Linked DNA regions of Homo sapiens: region 2 is linked to region 1. Evidence: promoter capture Hi-C in human tissues and cell types (Jung and others, 2019). All regions are on one chromosome and are shown on one strand. The core of a region is centred on a gene start or on the middle of the fragment in contact, and the rest is flanking DNA. Distances in the headings are between cores, read along the strand shown. Region 1 holds the start of RNF19B (ring finger protein 19B). Region 2 overlaps NHSL3 (NHS like 3).

Region 1 (3,660 bases), core at 537-3,036:
ATTGTTAGCTGGGCACATTGTACCCAGTTAAGAGAATGTTTCCCAGGCTCCCTTGCAGCTGAGTATGGCCATGTGAGTGAGTATGTTTTGGCAAAAATGTGCGGGACTTTCGAGGCAGTCCTTTTTTCTTTCTTTCTTTTTCTTTTTCTTTTTTTTTTTTTTTTGAGACAGAGTCTCGCTCTGTCGCCCAGGATGGAGTGCAGCGGCGCGATCTCGGCTCACTGCAACCTCCGCCTCCTGGGTTCACGCCATTCTCCTGCCTCAGCCTCTCGAGTTGCTGGGATTACAGGCGCCCGCCACCACGCCCGGCTAATTTTTTATATTTTTAGTAGAGACGGGATTTCACTGTGTTAGCCAGGATGGTCTCCATCTCCTGACCTCGTGATCCGCCAGCCTGGGCCTCCCAAAGTGCTGGGATTACAGGCGTGAGCCTCCGCGCCCAGCCCCAAGGCAGTCTTCTTAAAAGGAAGAGGATGCATCTTTCTTCCCTTTTTCCTTCCCACTGTTTGGAATATGGACCATAGTGAGGTGACCTTAACACTGGAAGCCAAATACTGAGGATGGCTGAACAGCCCTGAACTGCCTACTTTTGGACTTATATTTCATGGAAAGAGAGAAATTTCTGGCTAGGTGCAGCGGCTCATGCCTGTAATCCCAGCACTTTGAGAGGCCAAGGCAGGAGGATCGCTTGAGCCCAGGAGCTCGAGACCAGCCTGAGCAACACAGGGAGATTTCATCTCCATGAAAAAAATAAAAATAATAGGCAGGCCTGGTGGCGCACCTGTGCTCCCAGCTACTCCAGAGGTTGGGGTGGGAGGATCGCTTAAGCTTGGGAGGTTGAGGCTTCAGTGAGCTGTGATCACGCCACTGCACTCCAACCTGGGTGACAGAGCAAAACCGTCTCAGGAAAAAAAATAAATAAATTTCAATCGTAAGCTATTTTTTTCTTTTGTTATTTGCAATTGAATGTAATCCTGATACATTCCTGTTGTTGAAGCTGTTTGCCTGCCTCCCACTAGGAAGCCTAAGGGTCCAGATCCTCCCCCAGTCAGAGGAATGGGGAACTAGAAAAAGAAAGGCAAAGGCACTGCCAGGCAAGAAAACGCTGGGTCTCCTTCCACAAGTTTGGTAAGTAAGCAAGATACCAGGAGGATAGAATGGTAAGTGAGCCTAGAAATAGACTATTATATACATAGGGTTTATTAAATACATAGAGAACACTGAATGCTAGACTAAGAAATTTGGACTTTATTCTGGAAGTCCCTTGCAATAGGGGACCTTGTCTGTTTTATTTTCTAATGCCTCGCACTTTGTAGAAGCTCAGTGAATGAATATATTCTTTATTAATTTATGCCGTCTGCTTAATAAACAGAAATGTTGGAAGGTGAACCAGTTGGGAGTCACCATCTGATCAACCCCTGCCTGCTTTTTATAAATAATGTAACTGAACCATCATTTACTGGAAGTGGCAATCAACCTGTGAGGAACGGCAAACCAAAAAGTCCACCTTGGGTGTCATGGTGATGGAATTGGAGGCGGAGACCAGGGAGAGCAGCGGGCTAGGATCTCTGAGAGTCTCCGCAACATGGCGGCCCTGGAACCACCTGACCGGCAGGAGGCGGAGCTCCGCCCCAGCTCGCTCGGCCCCACCCCGCTCGGCCCTGCCCAGCGCACTCCTAGACCGGGGCGCAAGGGTTGTGAGGTGTTTGAGCGAAGCGCCTGCGCAGGGCAGCGGCGCGCGGGGCGGAGGCTTTATAATCACTTCGTCGTTGCCGCTCGGCTTCTATCGCCGGGAGGGCGGTTGAGGCGGTGGTGGCGGCGTCGGCGGCGGCCGGGCGCTGGCTGAGGGGCGCTGAGGCGGGAGCTGTGGCGGCGCTGGGCGCCCCTGGCTCCTCGGCCTCTGCCGGCCATGGGCTCCGAGAAGGACTCCGAGTCGCCGCGCTCCACATCGCTACATGCGGCCGCACCCGACCCTAAGTGCCGCAGCGGCGGCCGGCGCCGGCGCCTCACCTTGCACAGCGTCTTCTCTGCCTCGGCCCGCGGCCGCCGCGCCCGGGCCAAGCCGCAGGCCGAGCCGCCGCCCCCGGCTGCGCAGCCGCCGCCCGCCCCGGCCCCTGCCGCGGCCCAGGGCCCGCCGCCCGAGGCGCTGCCCGCCGAGCCGGCCGCCGAGGCCGAGGCGGAGGCCGCGGCGGCGGCGGCGGAGCCTGGGTTCGACGATGAGGAGGCGGCGGAGGGCGGTGGCCCGGGCGCGGAGGAGGTGGAGTGTCCGCTGTGCCTGGTGCGGCTGCCGCCTGAGCGGGCCCCGCGCCTCCTCAGCTGTCCGCACCGCTCGTGCCGGGACTGCCTCCGCCACTACCTGCGCCTGGAGATAAGCGAGAGCAGGGTGCCCATCAGCTGCCCCGAGTGCAGCGAGCGACTCAACCCGCACGACATCCGCTTGCTGCTCGCCGACCCGCCGCTTATGCACAAGTACGAGGAGTTCATGCTGCGCCGCTACCTAGCCTCGGACCCCGACTGCCGCTGGTGCCCGGCCCCGGACTGCGGGTGAGCGCGGGGGCGTGGCGCGGGTGGCGGCGGGCTGCAGCCGAGGGGCGTGGCTGGGGGCAGCAGGGACCCCGCGTGGGTGTCCCAAGCAGGGAAACCCGCAAGGCGGCAGCTTCGGCGGGGTGGTAACCATCAGGCAAGCCCAGACTAGTGGTGTGAACGCACCCGACACCCCGCCCCCTGCCCCAGGGCTCGAGGTGGCTGCTAAGCATTCGGTGAGGGGAAGGGAGCTGTCCAAGTTAGGAGACAGGGAGAGGCGGTTTTTTTGTTGGGGGAATGCCCTCTGTCCGGAGGTGAGGACAGTATCTTTTTTTTTTTTTCTTTTTTTTTTTGGAGACGGAGTCTCGCCCTGCCGCCCAGGCTGGAGTGCAATGGCGCGATCTCGGCTCACTGCAACCTCCGCCTCTCAGGTTCAAGCGATTCTCCTGCCTCAGCCTCCCGAGTAGCTGGGATTACAGGCGCCCGCCACCACACCCGGCTAATTTCTTTGTATTTTTAGTAGAGATGGGGTTTCACCATGTTGGCTAGGCTGGTCTCGAACTCCTGACCTCAGGTGATCCTCCTGCCTCGGCCTCCCAAAGTGCTGGGATTACAGGCGTGAGCCACCGCTCCCGGCCAAGGTGGGGAGTATCTCTTAATGAGAGTGGGGAGGGGATATTTGGCCAAGGAGGGAATGAGAATATTCTGAGGGGGCAGCGCGTCGGAGGGGTGTGTCCACTTGGCTAGGGACAGACTTAGCATTGCAGAAGAAGGCGTGTTCTCCCTGACAACCACCGCTGAAAGTTGGGATGGAGGTGACTGGGGAATAGGCTCTCGGGTACCCTGAGCACTATGTGTTCTGTGCCACGCTATCGGGAGGCACTCTGTCGTTCTTACCTTGCTGCCTTGGGTAGGGTGAGGGGTAGACAGATATGTTCTTTGTCCAGAGTCTCAATGGGGGCACTGAGAAGAATGCCCAGAGGTTGGTGTGATAGGAGAAATTGTGTTTCTGAACCCCTTTGATCTTGAGTTCTTGATGACAGTCTTTTTAATGCACCATGTAGGCTGAATTTTAAAGGGCAGTAAATTAAAATATGCAATATCTGCAGAGACATAATACACCAGATTTTGCTATCT
Region 2 (3,464 bases), core at 463-2,962, 200 kb after region 1:
ACTAAGTCAATGATGGTAATTTCCCTTTAGTGATAGCTTACTATTTAGTAAACATATTATTACGTGTTAGTCGTCATTCTAAACATTTGGCATTCATTCCAATAGGGTACTTATCCTCATTTTTATAGAACATCAAACAGAAGTTCAGAGAGGTTAAGGGTTTTCCCAAGGTCACACAGCTGGCACTAGTTAGTTACACCAGGCTTCCAACAGTTAAGATTTTCTAACTCTTTTTTTATTTTTTTTTTGAGATGGAGTCTCACACTGTCGACCAGGCTGGAGTGCAGTGGTGCAATCTCGGCTCACTGCAAGCTCCACCTCCTGGGTTCACGCCATTCTCCTGCCTCAGCCTCCCAAGTAGCTGGGACTACAGGCACCCGCCATCAGGCAAGGCTAATTTTTTGTATTTTTAGTAGAGACGGGGTTTCATTCACCGTGTTAGCCAGGATGGTCTCGATCTCCTGACCTCGTGACCCGCCCACCTCGACCTCCCAAAGTGCTGGGATTACAGGCGTGAGCCACCGCACCCGGCCGCCAAGATTTTCTAACTCTTAACTGCTTTATAGTTAGTGTGTATCACGAATGTGCAAGAGGACACAGGGTACTGTGTTTCCCGAATTCATTGAATCAGAGAGCCTGGTGAAACACTGGATAAGGAGGAAAAGAAGCTACAGATGCTGGGACCCAATGGAGCCCACTGTCCCTCTCCCCTGCCCATGAATCCACCTTTGCGCTGGATCATCTCCGAGCGGATGGAGAGCGCGTCCTCTGCTGTGGAGCTCTCAGCCACGTAGGATGTGGTCTGACTGCAGAAGGAGATGTTGTCTTCATCCGGCCCCGTCCGGGAGGACTATCAGGGTAGAAGGAGATCTGGGTGGGGCTGTCTCCTCAAGGCTCCCCATTGGAACTTTTTTTTGAGACAAATCCAGCTCAGGCTGGAGTGCAGTAGCGAAATCTTGGCTCACCACAACCTCCGCCTCCCAAGTTCAAGCGATTATCCTGCCTCAGCCTCTCAAGCAGCTGGGATTATAGGTACCCTCCCACCATGCCTGGCTAATTTTTGTATTTCTAGTAGAGACAGGGTTTCACCACTTTGGCCAGGCTGGTCTCAAAATCCTGACCTCAAGTGATCCGCCCACCTCAGCGTCCCAAAGTGCTGGGGTTACAGGTGTAAGCCACCTCGCCCAGCCTCCCACTCGAACTTTTGAGTCACAGATCCCCTCCAGCATCACCTAGCACTGAGCAACCCTGAACTAGCCCTCAGGGTTCATTTAGTGTAGCCCTTTGTGATAAAGAAACTGAGACCCAGAAATGTTCCAAGACATCCTTGCCAGGGGTCAAGCAGGTAGAGAAGAGTCAGGACTGAGCTGGAGGCAGGGCTCACCTGGATACTCTGGGTGTCTCCATGGTCCCAGCCACCCTTGTTCAGTTTCTGTTTCTCTGGAAGACACCAGAAGGGTCTGTTGGGTTAGGCCCCTGACCTTGACAGCTGACAGTGCAGCACTGGAGGGAGGAGAGGGGAGGGGAGTGGAGAGGAAGCTTACCTTGGTGTTGTAGGGAGCGGAGCCCCTCCTGGGCCTGAGTGTGCAGCTCTTCCAGGTGGGGGGGTCGCCCACTGGGAAAGAAGACGTTGTCCTGGTGCTCATCCACTGCAGACCCTGGCCCCTGGCCAGGCCCTACACTTAGATGTTTGTCATTCTCAGCCTTGGCAGAGCCTAGTAGGAGGGAGGAGGAAGGGAAATGAGGTAAAGGCATCTGGGCCCTGCAGGGGCACAGGTCTCACGGCAAGGGCAGTCATGGTCCCCAGACTGCACACGGCCATTGCATATACAAGCAATGCCCCCTTCCCCAGTCTGGACACATAACCCACAGTTCTGGAGTAAACACTCAACACACACAGCCCCCATATACACAAACTACACCCAAGTGTACATAAATCTGAGTACCCACACCACACAAAGGGCCCCATATAAGGCCCCACACACAGGGCACACAGGTACACAGGTCTACTGTGTACGTACACAGCACTCACAGATGTCATTCATGTATATAAACAAAGGGCATCCGAGTATAAACACACATAGGTACACACACCAAGCACACCCAGCCCGCACGTAAACACACAACACCCACAGTCCCTGCTCTGTATATACACAAACAGTAACCAAGTATACACACGACTATGTACTCACACGTCACTCAGAGCCCCACAAAAAACATCCCGAGTATACACATAGCCCATAGTAAATACATTGCTCTCGCCTCCATACCCAAAACCCCACTTCACAGGAAAACAAACCACTCTTTTCATGCCACCACTTGAACCAGGTCCAGGAAGAAGATATCACGGGAAATCAGGAAGGAGAGACAGCTGGCATGAGTTACAACCATATTCCCAGAAAATCCTAGGGGGGATGCAGACCAAGGAGATAGCCTCCTGGGTCCCCTACTCACCCATGTGGCTGCCCCTTAGTGGAAGGATGGGCAGGGGAGGGGAGAAGAAAGACCCAGGCCCCTCCACCCGCCCAAGGGAGCTCCAGTCTCTCTTGGGGAAATAGTCCCAGGTATCCCCCTCTCCTGGAGGCCCTGGCCCTGGCCCTGGCCCCTGTTGCAGAGGAGCCAGGGATCCATTACAAAGGATCCTGTTACAAGCCCCGCCTGTGGAGGGGCTGGCCATCTAATCCTGGGGATGGGGGGCTGTGTCAGCACTTTGCAGCCCCAGCCCCCCCTTTAAATGAAACCCACAACATAAGCAAAAGCGCTGGAAGGGTCATGTGACCTTGGTAACACCTTATAAAGGGACGGGAACAAAACAAGCCCTTTAAAGGGCCATGCTCCAGGAGCAGGGTCTTCAGTTCAGAAACCTGCCTTTCCTCCTCCCTCAGCCCATTCGTCAACAGCCAGAGCTCCTGCCCTAGGGAGTCTGCAGGAATCCCACAGGTCAGAGCTAGGAGGCCCCCAACAGATCCAACCAGACCAGTGCCCGAGATCCCCAGATTTTACAAGTGGGGAAACGGTTCAAAGGGGCAAGGCCTTGCCTAAGGTCACCCAGCAGTAGGAGTCAGACTGACCCTGGACTCAACTCCAGGTTCCCAGAGGGGACTCCCGGATCACACTCAGAGTAGGGGCCCCCAACCCTCAAAAGTCCAATAAACTCTTGTCCCTATGTCTTAATCCAGGTCTGAAAGCCCAATTCCTAGGAGAAGGAAGGAGGAACAGGCCCCTCCCTCCAAAACTTCTCCATTCCCAGGCCTCTAAACAGGATTTCACTGAGCAGGCTTCCCAACTTCCAGTGGTACTACTCTCCTCTCTTCTGGGCCGCCCACGTCCCATCCTCCCCGGCACACTAGGAAAGGCTAGTACATCTTGACTGGGAGGCTGTACCCAGTAAAGTGTGGGTACCCCGGCAGGGAGGCAAGTCTCACGGGAGGGCTGCAGGCTTCAAGGTCAGAGACACCTGGATC

The links. The method cuts DNA at HindIII sites, captures the fragments that hold promoters and counts their contacts. A contact is called where the count stands out against the background at its distance.
Region 2: a contact is called between a fragment that was not itself captured here and the fragment with the promoter of RNF19B in region 1, in 1 of the 25 tissues and cell types used here (liver).

Annotation. Positions count from the first base shown.
Region 1 is chr1:32,962,935-32,966,594 of GRCh38, reverse strand. It overlaps RNF19B (ring finger protein 19B), which reads left to right and starts at 1,786. Exons shown (of 9, transcript NM_001300826.2): 1 at 1,786-2,544. The coding sequence starts at 1,910. RefSeq lists silencers at 1,502-2,071, 2,432-2,641 and an enhancer at 1,687-2,191. The HindIII fragment of the contact is 6,156 bases long and covers 1-3,660 here.
Region 2 is chr1:32,766,038-32,769,501 of GRCh38, reverse strand. It overlaps NHSL3 (NHS like 3), which reads right to left. Exons shown (of 7, transcript NM_020888.3): 2 at 1,545-1,715; 3 at 1,385-1,440; 4 at 727-850. Among named protein-coding and RNA genes, the nearest start is that of NHSL3, 26 kb to the right of the region's middle. RefSeq lists enhancers at 1-27, 2,074-2,967, 2,968-3,464. The HindIII fragment of the contact is 8,899 bases long and covers 1-3,464 here.